2 separate regions of the Homo sapiens genome follow, and region 2 is linked to region 1. The links are contacts of gene promoters, found by promoter capture Hi-C in blood cells and fetal thymus (Javierre and others, 2016). All regions are on one chromosome and are shown on one strand. The core of a region is centred on a gene start or on the middle of the fragment in contact, and the rest is flanking DNA. Distances in the headings are between cores, read along the strand shown.

What was found. The method cuts DNA at HindIII sites, captures the fragments that hold promoters and counts their contacts. A CHiCAGO score of 5 or more calls a contact.
Region 2: a contact is called between a fragment that was not itself captured here and the fragment with the promoter of CTIF in region 1, in 1 of 17 cell types (erythroblasts). The highest score is 6.5, in erythroblasts.

The regions. Positions count from the first base shown.
Region 1 is chr18:48,537,781-48,545,251 of GRCh38, reverse strand. CTIF (cap binding complex dependent translation initiation factor) reads right to left here and starts at 6,221. Exons shown (of 12, transcript NM_014772.3): 1 at 5,940-6,221. RefSeq lists enhancers at 66-631, 1,150-1,924, 1,925-2,701 and silencers at 3,856-4,335, 4,656-4,745, 5,176-5,535, 6,036-6,115. The HindIII fragment of the contact is 7,178 bases long and covers 1,254-7,471 here.
Region 2 is chr18:49,446,981-49,454,451 of GRCh38, reverse strand. All of the region lies in intron 1 of DYM (dymeclin), which reads left to right. Among named protein-coding and RNA genes, the nearest start is that of DYM, 9.9 kb to the left of the region's middle. The HindIII fragment of the contact is 1,333 bases long and covers 3,910-5,242 here.

The sequences.
Region 1 (7,471 bases), core at 4,972-7,471:
GGCTTACAAAGCTCCTCCACTCTGAGCGCTGTCTGCATCTCCGCCTTTGCATTTGACCTCACTGCTTGCGGTTCCTTCCTACACCCAGGCAGCCTCATGCCTCCACACCCTGCGCACGCCATGCCTTCTCCCTGAATGCCCGTCTCCCATCTCCTTTCCTGGCCAGTTCCTTTTCATCCATTAAGATTCAGCTCCTGAGCCGTCTCCTTTAGGAAGCCCTCCCTGACATCTGAGGCCGGAGCAGGTGGCTGCCCCTTGTCTGTGCCGCTGTAAGGGCCTTGGGCTTCTCTCTACCTAGACTTCCCACATGACGTTGAATGGAACTGTTTATGCATCTGTCTCTCCCACTAGAAAGCTGGCTGCTTGAAGGCAGGGGGCTGTACCTGTTCACTGTCATAGCCCCAGGGCCTAGCACAAAGACAGGCATAGAAAAGCAGCCCGACAACTACTGTGAAGCTCGCACCGACTGCAGGATGATCAAGTAAACCTCTTAGGTCTGTTCTACCCACCCCAAGCACCTAGTTGCCCCCTAACCATTTTTGGGCCATTGCCCCAGCCTAAAACCTCCTCCACCATTACCCAGGCCTACTCCCAAATTCACCTCATCCATGAAACCATCCCAAACTGGCTCCACTCTACAGATCGTTGCTATGGTAACTGCCTCCCATACTTTATCTCCCCTACCCCTTGGGTAAGTGAGCATTTGGGTCTGGCTCTGTGGCCGAATATGAGTGAACAGTAGGCATTAAGAAGCTCTGGGAAGTTCAAGGCTTTCTGTTCATCATAATGATGTCAGACAGCAAGCCACCTCAGCCCTGAGCACTGGACCTGAAGTCTGAAGTCAGGGTTCATATCCCTGCTCTACTGCTTACTCGTGACTTGGGCATGCCACTAACCATGAAGGCTCAGCTTCCTGCTCTGCAAAATGGGTATAACAACAACTGCCTCACAGGCTGATAACGATAACCACCTATTATAAAAGGCAGATGGGATAATTTGTGTGAAATAGTTTGCAAACTGTAAAGCCAAATCAAGTGCAGCGTATTAAAGTAGCCCCAGTGTCAACCAACCACTATCCAACCTTTCTGTCCTTCTCCCTACCAGTAGTTTTGTCCTTACTTGAGTCAGTTGAGAATCAAATGAAATCTGTAGATTCTCTTCCTAGAAAAGTACACACGCATCCCAGCTTTGCAAACACTTCCAAAAGGTTCCTGAGGACCCTGCCTCAGGGCCAGAAAGCCACAGACCAAGCTTAAGAGCACTGTAGGACACCAAGACACCCTATATTTCCCAAATACAGACCTTCATTTGCTCATGAATGCCAAAGATGAAGATAAGGCAGGAAGGGCCAGTTGTGAAGGAAAGAGAAGTCAAATGAATTTCAGAGCCCTTCCCAGAACCAGAAGACAGGAGAGAAGAAGATAAAGAGTTCTCACTCTTTGGGAAGAACCTAACTTTTTTCCAGAAAGCATTACGGTACATAGAAAGAAGATTGGATGAAATCTCAAATTCCAGGATTTTTTACCCACTCTGCTAAGGGCTCACCATGACCTTAGGCAAGTCATTCCACTTCCCTAGGCTTCAGGTCTTCACGTGAAGATCAGATCATCTTCAAAGTCCTCCCCAGCTCTGGGTGCCGGAGATCCAAGGATGTGTCTGTTCTCACCCCGTTGTGAACCACAGCTCTGGCCTTAATTCCAAAGTCAGAGGCATGCTGAGAGCACGGTGCTAACACAGGGAGAAGGCCACCATTATAGCAAGGTTCTAAATTAAACCGCACACAGCGGGAGGCAGGGGCAAAAGAAAACCCAAACCTGAAAGGAAGCAGCTGAGCTCAGGGTGCCGGTGAGTCAGCAGTGAGGCCCAGAGGTAGACGCCCCCTCCCCCTGCCAAGCCAAGGACATCAAATGGGGCTGTGTTATCAGGTAAGTTATGCAGAAATGCCACCACGTGTGGAGAATTCTCAGAAACTGCAATTTGCCTGCATGTTTGTACCTCCTGTTCTCTATCTGGGCTCAGGATTCTCTCTCCAACCTAACCACCCATCTCCTGCCTCCTCCTTCATGACCTGAGCTGCAAACAACATAACCTTAAAACAAGGGCAATGGAGCCCAAAACAGAAATGAAATTAGAGGACAATATCTGGGACCAGACGGTGAGTTTGGGATTAGATAAAAAGCAGACTTGTATTAACACACCTACACAGACCTGTAAGGCAGAAACTCCTACACCCAGGCAGGGCCTGAGTGAGACCTTGACCAAAGCCACAGCCTGTCCCTGAGTCACAGCACATCTGAGCTGGGGCGGGACCACGGAGAACATCTCCTTAGCTCCGTGTCGCCAGAAACCTGTTGGTTGGCTTCAGGGTAATTTCCATCAGCTGCCTAACTTCCACAGAAGAACATACCTCTGGGCCCTCCCGGGAGGTTGCAAACAGCCTGAAGTTCAGGGTAACAAGGCTATCAAGGTGTTTTTTCCCCATCGCTTCCTTCTGCATTTGCTCTAGAATAAGAACTGGCATCTTGGGCCCCTTGAAACCAACATATGTGAAACTAAGTTCCAGGGTGACTGCTCTAAAATATTTATGATTTGTTCCCTCCTGTAGGCTGTGTTATTGCATTGCAACTTAACTATCTCTGCTCTACTATCTTTGTAGAGAAGCAGAGTATCTGGCCTAAGTGAGGCTGGTGCTTCATAAACATTTGCTGGACTTAATTAACATTTGTTAAGTTTTCTTTGTATGCACTTCTAGATACACAAACATGTAGGTGCCCAGTACATATTGAGTGAATGGTTAATTAATTGATTAGTTGGCTAAACTTAATAACCCTCCAGGCTGTCTGACAGCCTTCACATGCATGAATTCTGAGAAATCCATGCAGGCATGTATAAGTTCTTTGCTCCTTGAATTCAATAAAGACTCAATGAACACAGCCATACAAACACAGGTAAGTGTTACATGAACAGGCATACCATATACATTTATTATATGCACATATGATTCTGGTAGAAACTGGATGTATCACAGCTGCTATCCATTCACCAACAGCAAATTATTAAATGCGTGGTAATAACAGCAATGCAGACTTCCGTTCTTTAGTGGCTGCTCTCATTAGGAATGGTTAACAAATCAAGAGTGTTTTGAGAAAGAATATGTGTCAGCATAATATACTCTATTTTTTAGCTTCAGTATTTCCTGAGGTGTCAAGAATCCATACTCAGAAAAAAAGTGGCCACTATTAATTAAATGCCATAAGCTGAGAAAAGGGGGAATGTGGCCCTTCCCCCACCCAGAGGCCTTATGCAAGCCACATTTTTGAGCCTCAGTGTGTTCATCCGTAAAATGGGGCTAATACTCTCCTACCTCACAGGACCCTCTTAATAAATGCTATGATATCTGGCGGGGGAGGGGGGAGGTTCTGGGGGAAGAAAACCTGCCCTGTAAGGTCATACAAACATATTATTATTCTAGCAAGCTGTTAATCACTGATGACACTGTGCCCTAGAATGTGTTACAAAATTGCTGCCTCTGAGCATCCATTATCCAGGACAGATACTTGACACAGATGAGGTGATCTGTGTGTAAATCGAATCCTGTGTCAAACACTCAGGAGTTTCCCCAGACAACCTGAGCGTGTCCTGGCCATCCTCTAGCGTCTGTTCGGTGCATTCTGTTCACGTATAATTGGGTTTTCTTGAAAGCCAGGCCATCTCCTCGCGCAGCCCGAGCCTGCTAGGAGCCTGGATTCCTGAGGTTTTCAGCCCAGATCGGGCCCTGGGCAGGAGGAACTGGGAACGGACAGCCGGCGGCCCCTCCCTGCGCTCTGGGCGGCTCCTTCCTCTCGGCCCTGGCTCCAGCAGCGGCGGCGCTCTCTCGCGCTGTGTCACTTTCGCCCTACGGAGGCTCTAGCCGCGGCCGAGCCGGCGGCTCCAGCGGCTTCCTCCTTGGTCGCGCGGGCCCCTGGACTGGGGGATAATCCTCGGGCCGCAGAGACACAGCGCCGGGCGGGCGGCGGCCTGGGCCGGGCTGGGGCGCGCTGGGCTTGGGCTCCCACTGTCCCCAGACTGAAGAGCCGGGGCTGCGGTTGGCAGTCGCTGACTCTCTCCCCGGTCTGCGAAGGCAGCGGCGGCGAGCGCGGGCACGCACACCCATAGAACGCCTCGGTGCGGGGTCACCCCAGCGTGGACTGGGGGCGGCGCAGCCAAACCAACCCCCCGCGCCGCCGGGTGGACCCCCAGTCTGCCGGGTCACGGGGCGTCGCGGACGCGGAGGGAGGGGCTGTGTGACTCCGGCCGCACAGCGGACCTGGGACTCCTGCACCGAAGACCAGCACACGCGACCCTACGGTCTTCCCCGGCCCACAGCCGCACGGTCCCCTCTCCAAGTAACTCGGGCGCGCGCGCGCGGGGACACACGACCCCGACTTAGACAAGGAGGGGGCTGGCGGGACAGGTCGCGCGGAGGATCGGGGCCCACGCTTGTCCCCACTACGCCGCGGTCTGCGGTCCCCGCCCCCCACACACACCGGAGCCGTGTGTACACACAAACAGCCGGGCGGGGGAGGCGACGCCTCACTCCTCGGGGTGGAGACGCACGCGGCGCCGCCAGTCAGCCCTCCCCTCTACACGCCGCACACCCCGCGGTGCTCACACCCCCCAGCCCCAACCCTGAAAACTCCGCGGAACCAAACAGAGCCAACGCCGCCCAGATAACGGGCTCGGACCACCCCCCTCCCGATTGTCTTTTACCATCAATAGAGAAACACTCGGCTCAGGCGCGCGGTGTCCCGGACGCCCCCTCCGGCCACATCCAGGCACCGGCACGCGGCCCTCCGAGGCCCCAGACCTTCGCCGCAGCCCAAGCCATCGCCCCCCCGCCCGCCCTCCCCCATGACCGGCGCCCGGGACAGTTACCTGCTCGTCGTCCTGATGAACCCGAGCCGGAGCCCACCCCACGGCCTCTCGGGTCACTCGCCACCCAGAGGTGGCTTTTCAGAGCCTGTCAAGTGAACCCCTCTCCGCCGGGCGTATCTATTCCCCAGGCCCGATTGCACCGCAGCGACAGGAATAATAAAAAAAGCCAACAGAACCACAACCGTTGGGAATAACCAAAGGGGAGACCGCAACGGGTCCACCGATTTGGTTTCTTCCTCTGCTCCCATCCCCCGCTCCCCCCGCGGCCCGCGGGCTCACCGGGGACGCAGGGAGGGGGCTGCGCCCTGTCTAGACGACAGCCATCCACAGACATCCCCGAGCCCGCGGGGACGGGCGCGCACACTCACACACGCCCGCTGCCACAGACACAATCAGTCACCGGGGAAGGGAGGGGCGGCGTGGCGACACACTCTCGGGGTCCCTCCCGCAGCCCCGAGTGCCGCAGCCCCCGGCCCCCAAACGCCACCCCGAGACGGGCTCCCTACCTCGGCGGAGCGCGGTCTGAACAGCTGCAAGTTTGGCTGATACTAAACCAACTGCTCGATGCAGCAAATGCGGGCTTCAAAACAAAAGGGAGAGGAATCGCGCTCGCTCTTTTCCTCCTCCCAGGTCGGAACCCGGCACATGACAGCGGCTACACCGCGCAGCTCCAAAGCGAGCCGGGCTCCAGCCGTGCGTCCCCCAAGAGCCCCCCTTGGCGCCGGAGCTCCAGGGCCACGACACCCCGCGGGGCGGGGAACCCGGCAGGGAATGGGACAAACCCAGGGAGGGGGCGACACTGTGGAGTGCAGTTCCCCACCGAGGGGGAGGAGGGGATGGTAGATGGGTGCGGACACCCCGCTGGCCCAGGAGCAGGGATGGGGGGAAGGGGGCTGATTGTTTGGGGCGGTTTTCCCGGATTTATCTATAAGCACGCCCACGTCACGCAGCCCTCCTCCCGGGTCCCCGAATCGATCAGCAAGCTGAGATGACTATAAGAGGAGGACGGGCGAGGAGATGCTCACCTCGGGGTTCCTCTGGCCGCCGCGCCAAGCCCGAGTCGGGGGTGGGGGAAGGGGGCAGGGAAGGGGAAGGGAGGGACGAGGCTCCGGAGAGCCGACTCCTGCCTCGAGTTCGGAGCGTCCCAGCTGCGGAGGGGATCGGGCGCCCCAGCGCACAGACCCAGCAGAGAGGGGAGGGAGGGAGGGAAGGGAAACAGGGAGGGAGGGGCGGGTAGGGGGGAGGGAGTAGAGGAAGGAAAAAAAATGATCCCTGATCTGACACAGGGAAAGAGAATGTAGGAGAGTGACGTTCAGGCCCCGCCCTCCCCTCCGGCCACGTGCAAAGACTTGAAAGGAAAGAGGGCGGCTGGAGGCCTGCTGGGTAATGTAGTTCGCCTTTCTTTTCCAGGATGGCGGGCCCTGGAGAGCAGGGTGGCCCCAGGACGCTCGGGATGTCGCCTTAGCTGCCAAGACAGCCCAGTCTAGCGACGCCAAAACCCGCCGCCCAGCGACCCCACGGCGCTGGCGCAGCCCTGGGTGGGGGCCTCTGCGGTGGGAGAACTGGGGGCTTAGGCGCAGTCCAGGCTTACAGGGAAACGTTGGTTTTAGAGTCCGAAAGGCTTTAAGGATGAGAACGTCCGTGCCGAAAGTGCAAAGTCTGTGCTAATGGCAGATGAAAAGGAGCTTTGTGTATGCACTGGGGGGCCCAAGTGGCGTGATTAATGCTGCACTAAATGCCACCGTCGGTTATTGAGATGCATATGTTATAATTAACATTTGAGCATCTCTGTGTCGGGGGCTGGCTGTTGTAATTAGATACGCACTTTGCAACCAATTAATTTTCCTTCGGCCAAGCTAAGGGCTGGGACGGGGTGGTTGGGAGAATTCAACGTAGTGGATAATTCAGTAATGACTTAACCAGATCACCAATGTTTTGGTTAAAACTGAGCTTGGCACAGAGAGGCCTTCAGGAGAAATACTGAATAAAATACTGTATGCCCCAACAGGGAAGGGGGCTAGAAATTCATTAGAGGAACTGTGTGATGCAGTATAAACTGCTGTAGAAACCCATTTATTCATTAGTTTATATTCACATTTAGTGAGCACTTTCCACAGACCAGGTGTGTCTAGGAATGCCAAAACAGGTAAGACTCACAGTCTCTGCGCTCAAGGAGCTCAGTCCAGTATTAGGGACTACAGTCAATGAAAGTATTATACAAGGGATAAGTCAGCGCTTAACACAAAGTGCTGTGAAATTCCCCCCACCACACAACCTGGAGCAGCCAACTGGATGGAGGGTGGGTGGGGTCTGGGAGAGGGTCAGGAAGACTTCCTGGAGGAAGTGATACTTGAGCAAAGAATTTCTAAGTTTTTTTTTCTTTTTTTTTTTTTTTGGAGACTGAGTCTCTCTTTGTTGCCCTGGCTGGAGTGCAGTGGCGTGATCTTGGCTCACTGCAAGCTCTGCCTCCCTGGTTCATGCCATTCTCCTGCCTCAGCCTCCCAAGTAGCTGGGACTTCAGGCGCCCGCCACCACACCTGGCCAATTTTTTTTTTTT
Region 2 (7,471 bases), core at 3,327-5,826, 910 kb before region 1:
TTACAGTACATGTGGCTGGCAGAGAAGGGAAGATGGAGCCGCCATTTTGAAAATGTCTAGTCCTTAGTTTCTGCAGGCATTATCGTGTGCAAGCTCCCAGCTTGCAGGCTGCTCTTTGTTAGAAAATGATTTGGGGCTGCTTTTCATTAAAAAGAACAGCCTTACTGAGGACTCCCATGCCCTTGCTATCTGCCTAAGTAATTCCTTGTTAACTCCTATATCATCATTCCCTGCTCTGGAGTGGCAACCCTAACTGCTGTTAGGGGGTGTTGGGTGATGACTCTTTCTGGCTACTTCCTGCTGAAAAGGGGCATCATGTGGGGATCAGCAGCTAGGGCTCCTCCTGGGGTCAATCTAAGGGTCCTTGGAAGAAAGGCATGTCCGTGTGTGGTTCTGTCTGCAGCATCATTTGGAGTTTGATTCTGTTGCTATTCTGATGGGTTGTAACACTGGTTTGCCTCCACCAGATGTTGTTGAAATGTTAATATAAAAGTAACATTCCTTTTAGGATAAGTGGCATTGGATTTGGGTGGCTGGAGTAACTTTAGTGTTAACCTTGGCTAGATCTTTCCTGCAGTTATCAATCCCTTCATGACTTCCACAGAAAATCTCTTTCCTTTATAACCTTCTTTGCATAGCCAGGGTGTGACATATTACCAAACCCAATAAGAAGTTCTAGCAAACTCGGTGTTAGTAAAACTTTCGTGCTTCCTTTTTGTTGGTAATTATCCCTGCTATCAGGATAATAATTAAGCAAATTCTACAACAATGAAAACTCTCTTTCCAGTATTTCAGTTAGAAGGTGCTATTGTGTCCAGAATTGGTGGGTTCTTGGTCTCATTGACTTCAAGAATGAAGCCACGGACCCTCACGGTGAGTGTTACAGTTCTTAAAGGCGGCGTGTGTGGAGTTTGTTCCTTCTGATTTTCGGATGTGTTCGGAGTTTCTTCCTTCTGGTGGGTTCGTGCTCTCGCTGGCTTCAGGAGTGAAGCTGCAGACCTTCGCAGTGAGTGTTACAGCTCATAAAGGCAGTGTGGACCCAAAGAGTGAGCAGCAACAAGATTTATTGCAAAGAGCGAAAGAACAAAGCTCCCGCAGTGTGGAAGGGGACCTGAGCCGGTTGCCACTGCTGGTTGGGGCAGCCTGCTTTTATTCCCTTATCTGGCCCCACCCACATCCTGCTGATTGGTCCATTTTACAGGGTGCTGATTGGTGCGTGTACAATCCCTGAGCTCGACACAAAAGTTCTCCAAGTCCCCCCTAGATTAGCTAGATACAGAGTACTGATTGGTATATTTACAAACCCTGAGCTAGATACAGAGTGCTGATTGGTGCATTTACAAACCTTGAGCTAGACACAGGGTGTGGATTGGTACATTTACAAACCTTGAGCTAGACACAGAGTGCTGATTGGTGTATTTACAATCCCTTAGCTAGACATAAAGATTCTCCAAGTCCCCACCAGATTAGCTAGATACAGAGTGCCGATTGGTGCATCCTCAAACCCTGAGCCTAGACACAGGGTGCTGATTGGTCTGTTCACAAACCTTGAGCTAGACACAGAGTGCTGATTGGTGTATCTGCAATCCCTTAGCTAGACATAAAGGTTCTCCAAGTCCCCACTAGACTCAGGAGCCCAGCTGGCTTCACCTGGTGGATCCTGCACCAGGGCCGCAGGCAGAGCTGCCTGCCAGTCCCGCGCTGTGCGCCTGCACTCCTCAGCCCTTGGGCGGTTGATGGGACCAGGCGCTGGGGAGCAGGGAGCGGCGCTCGTCAGGGAGGCTCAGGCCACGCAGGAGCCCACGGCAGTGACTTGGAGAACCTTTATGTCTAGCTGAGGGATTGTAGATACGCCAGTCAGCACTCTGTGTCTAGCTCAAGGTTTGTAAATGCACCAATCAGCACTCTGTATCTAGCTAATCTGGTGGGGACTTGGAGAATCTTTATATCTAGCTCAGGGATTGTAAACGCACCAATCAGCACCCTGTCAAAACAGACCAATCAGCTCTCTGTAAAATGGACCAAATCAGCAGGATGTGGGTGGGGCCAGATAAGGGAATAAAAGCAGGCTGCCTGAACCAGCAATGGCAACCCGCTCAGGTCCCCTTCCACACTGCGGGAGCTTTGTTCTTTCACTCTTTGCAATAAATCTTGCTGCTGCTCACTCTTTGGGTCCACACTGCCTTTATGAGCTGTAACACTCACCGCGAAGGTCTGCCGCTTCACTCCTAAGCCAGCGAGAGCACGAACCCACCAGAAGGAAGAAACTCCGAACACATCCGAACATCAGAAGGAACAAACTCTGGACATGCCGCCTTGAAGAACTGTAACACTCACTGTGAGGGTCTGTGGCTTCATTCTTGAAGTCAATGAGACCAAGAATCCACCAATTCCAGACACACTGCCATGTATAACCCTACTGCAAATAGTAGAGTGAGTATAGCAATTCCCACAAGTGTGGTGTAGTAGATACTTTCCATCTAAAATTTTATTTGCCAAGGTATCCAGATTTTTGTGTTACCCATCTCTTTTTGTTTCTTGTAAGCTTCAGGAGATCACCACTTGATTCACAGGAATAAGCAGTGTTAGTCTAAAATGTAGGCACACAACTTAAAAACAATTAATGTGACTAGGATTTAATGACAAATGTATGATAAGCTTTGGAGCATATTTTCTCTCTCTAGTCCTGATTTTGGTAAAAACAAATTATGATAGGACCGTGTTGTTTGTAGAATAAACCTTAGTCTTATATTTGGCCTTGTTATTTGCATAAAGTTCAGCAAGAGTAATTATTTCTGCATAGTCCTTTTGGATTGGCTTCGATGGAACTCTGTTCCACAAGAAATCTCAGATAAGACTTCTTAAAGCTGAGCCCAGCATGGGTTTGTATCTTCAAATACCTGTGAGTTGGGTGATCCTTTTCTCTTAAGGTCCCAAGATAAACTTGGAGCTCCTGGACCTGTTAGAAAGTGACATTCTTTACTGACCAAAGGTTAGGAACCCTGTGCGGGGACTGTGTAGACAAGGTATGAGGCCAGTTCTTCCCATGGGGCTTTTTCAGCTCTGCAAGTGGAGGTTGACTCCTTAAAGGGAAGCATACACTTCCAGTCAAAGCCTTGATAAAATAGCCAGTTTTTCCATTTGTGTCCTGTTGAAAAAGAAAAATGGATTCTTATTTCACTGATGCAAACAACTATATTGCCATAAGTTAAGAGTTCTCACAGATTAGAGGAACCAGGCAGAGAGAAACAATCATGCTTCAAGTTTTGTTCACAGGAGTATACCTTACTCAATTATTAAAGGCTGTAAATAGTTCAAAATAAGTTTCCTTGACTCTGAAAAACAAACCAAGGATCAGCAATATTCCAAGCAAAAGTCAAAAAGATTGCTTTAGCTTTCTGAGTGTAGTCCATTTAGTCAATTCTTGTTTTGCTTGATATTTGTGAACATTTCAGTTCATGAGTCCTGTACGTTCTTTCTCTCTTCCAATGTTACAATCTTCAAAGCTGTTAAAAACCTGCATTTGAGGACACCTGTTGAAAGTCCTTAATATAGCTTGATTATAAACTGTCTTTTCAGAAGGAACAAAGCAAAACAACAATTGTCTGTGCATGACAAAATTTCCAGGTTACAGTTAAAAACATGACGGAAAAAGTTTAGTTAACCTTAATTATGATTGATAGTATATACTTAGACATTAGAATTTTAGAAATCCCATACAATTTTGGAACATATATTAGTATTATTCACCAAAATATAACTTAAAGAAGATTGGACATCGTTTTGGCAATTCTAATGTGACTAAACATGTCAGATAATCCTGTTTACCTCTTCTCTGGATGTTTCAGGGGCCTTCTGAACAATCCAGAAAGCCAGGCATCAGGAAGGACAATTTTGAAACTTGAAGCTTGATTTTGGGATGCCTTTTAAATGTTAGAGGTTTAAAACACTTGATGTTATGAAATAGAATTCCAAATTGCCATTATTTATTTTGCCAAAATGATGTCACAAAAGGAAAAAATCTTTCATCATCCTTTACTATTACATGAAAATCCTGTTTAAAGCCAAATTTTACCCTTGTATTAGTTTATTAAAGTTGTAAACAACCTTTTGATAAAACCTCATAGGAAAGTTCACCTAATCTTAACCAATGACCATGGGGTGAAGTCTTTACAAACCCTTTACAACCCCTTTTGTTAAACGGCAGATTAGTGTCTTAAGACAGCCTTGCCGTGTTTTTCTTTCAATGCTCAATTTAGGAAAAGACCATATAATACCCTTTTGAATTTAGTTAATGTTTATACATTTTTGCAAGATTAATTTTTGTCTTCCTGTAACTTGCTTAAACCTTTAGCTCTGTCTTATTAAATTTAAGATAATCTCTTATCCCTGGGCAAAATTTATATTTTCATGCTTTCTTATAATCTTTTACTAAAAAACACATTTCACTGTTTTTATAAGCCTTGCATATAAAACTTTAGAGATCTCAAATACATGTTGCACTGTTAACTCTCAGCAACTTTTACTTTAGGTAAAAAACCTGGTTAGTAAGTGATTTTAATTATATACCAGGTGTGGAGTCTAGGACCCAGACAAAGTCAGGCTTATGGGGTCCTGGGCCTGCATCCTAACCTAAGGTACCCTTTCTTTTGACAGAACGCTACAGAAAGACACACAAAGCACACCAGATTGGTTACAGCTTAAGACCAACCTCACAAATTCTTTTTTATTAATTAAAACTTTACAGAGAATAAACAATCATCCTTATTATCCTTGTTACTGGTTTGCACAGGAAGAGATAAGCCAAAATGTTGACTGGTAAAAAAACTTTTACCCTTTTGCCAGCATGTCAGGCTTCTGGGTTCCCTTCCCATTAGCTCAACTCTAAGTCAACCATTTTAAGGTTTGGGGAAATTAACTTTTCCTACTTTGGAGGAACATTATACAGGAAGAGATAGGAACCATTGTACACTGTGAAAGAAGGAAAAACACCATAGAAAAGTCTGGGGATTCCAGTTAGGGTTGTCAAGAGGTACCGCCTCTCTTCCTATTGGGAATTGTGTTTCTCTTATTTCTTTGCCTTCCCTATTTTCTCTTTTCGTTTTAGGCCTACTATAGGAAACGTTGCTTATCTTTCAATTTCTTTGCTGCCTGCTCTTCAGCTGTAATTAGGGTTTGGCTTAGAAGCAACATAAAATCTCTTCATGAGAGGTGAAACACCTGAGTTAAATTTTGGAAAGCTTCTATATACCTATCAGGGTCTTCAGAAAATTGGCCTCAGTCACCTTTATTTGCCTAAGGTCTTGCAAAGAGGAGGGAACTTGAACCCTAGTGACATCACCTCCATTGGGCATTTCCTGTAGAGGTAAGAGTGAAAGTGGGGAGTGGGAAATTTTGGAGATGGTGGAGGTGGAAGAACTGGTGGTATGGTTGGAGGTGGCCCTAAATAAGGGGGACTTGAAGGGCTGGGACACCCAATAGCTGCCTCAGATGATTTCCCCAGAAGTTGCTTCTCTCATTTTGGGGAATTATTCTCTTTGGGCCTGCTCAATATGATTGCTAAAAGGGCTGGGTTAATTCTGTAACGCTTGCAAAGGTCTAGTAAAAAGGCCATGCCCTGTGCAAAAGAAAATGAGCTGCTTTTTAAAGTTTCAGGGTCAAAGAAATCCTTGTGCTTCAGAATGCACTCCAGGGGAGTGCAGGATGAAGATGGTACCCACTTAGAGAAAAAGGTGGCCCTTTAGTCTCCTTCCTTTTGGTGTGACCCATGGTGGAGAGGAAGCAGTGGGGGCATCCCCCCTGCTTTTTTCCCCCTGTGTTTCCTGGGTCCCAGGCACCTTGTTGAACATGCTGCCCATGGTTGCAAGTGTGACCCCCAGTCATGGAACCAGAGGAACTAAGTCACTGGGGCTAGTCATGCTCACCCAAGTGGCTGTAGTCCTCTGCCTGTGATTTCCCTTTAACTTCCTAGACTTGTGTGACTTGCCTGGCTTCCTGAAAAATGGATTTCAAGAAAAACTACATAATAGTTGGGCAAGGCCCCTTTAATGCAGGGGATGTGCTAGATTGAACTCTGTATCCTGCTATTATGGCCTGTGCTGAAGCATTTACCCTTAGATAATGGTTCCAGTTAACTTCCAAACTTAAAATTCCCTTACTAATTAAGTACTACTCTAATTGAAGGCAGAATAGGTGGCTTAAAAAAACTTAGGGATTGAATGGCCATTTTCCTGCTGATGAGACAGTATTGAGACTAAATTTTGGCTTTGGAGGAATATTTTACCCCTAATTGTTGAAGGCAGAGTTTTCTCATTTACAGAACCAGCATAAAGCCTGGTTTCTAGTAGAGAGGCACAAAAAGGAAAGAGAATTGGGAGGCTAGGATGTTTCATTGGACTGACAGTGTGCTTCATGGAGAGGATTCCTATTTCACTAGGTGGCGCTGTTGACCTTGAAACACCACATACTCTCTAGACCAAGGGCAGAGAGAGACCTGGAAAATGCCATGTGCTCTCCAGACCAAGGGCAGAGAAAGAGAGATTCTCACTGTTGGGGGGTCAGGGAGCCCTGTTCTTAGAAAATCACAAAGACGCTTCCCCTTGAGCTATATGCCTTGTTACTACGACATTCCCTGATCTTACCAAACAAGACTACTTCCCTGAACCATAAAACTTCCCACACATTTCATACAGAGAGGATAAGAGATATGACGGTTGCGAACAGGAGAGGAGGAGATTACAATAGGAAAGTTGGAGATCCTGTTGCCGACACCGCATTGGGGCGGTTGGCGGCTGGGGTCCAGAAGCCTTTGGATAACACCAGGGGGTAGCGCCGGCCAGAAATCCTCAGTTGCCCCAGGACTTCTTCCAGCCCCACACGACAGCTAAGTCCTCCATGAAAGGTCTAAAATGGAAGCCGAGAACCTTGGAATGAAAGGACAGAGTTAGAGTTCGCTCTTCCCCTTACCGTTCTTATGAATGTTGTACCTTGGTATCCCGGACAAAGCTGCCATTATGAAGTGGCTACACTATCTGGGGTGTATACCCTAGGGTTTGTTGTTGCCTGCCGAGAAAGAATTAGGACACGGACATGTGGGTGGGTTAAGGAGTGGAAAGCTTAATAGACAGAAGAAAGGAGAGAGGAGAGCAGCTCCTTGAGAAAGAGACGTGTTCGAAAAAGGTACTTTCTGGTCTCTTATGCTTCTGCTTTGATTCCTTTTCTGTTCCAGCCATGTTAAACTTCTTTCAGGTCCTTGAACAGGCCCTACCTGTTATTTCTTAACCACAGGGCTTCACACGTGCTGTTCTCTGCTTTGGAAGTTTCTGAACTCCCACATCCACCCAGGCCAACCCTTCTTGTCCTTTAGGTCTTAACATTTTTTTTTTTTTTTTGTGATGGAGTCTTCCTCTGTCTTGCCCAGGCTGGAGTGCAGTGGCGTGATCTCAGCTCACTGCAGCCTCTACCTCCCGGT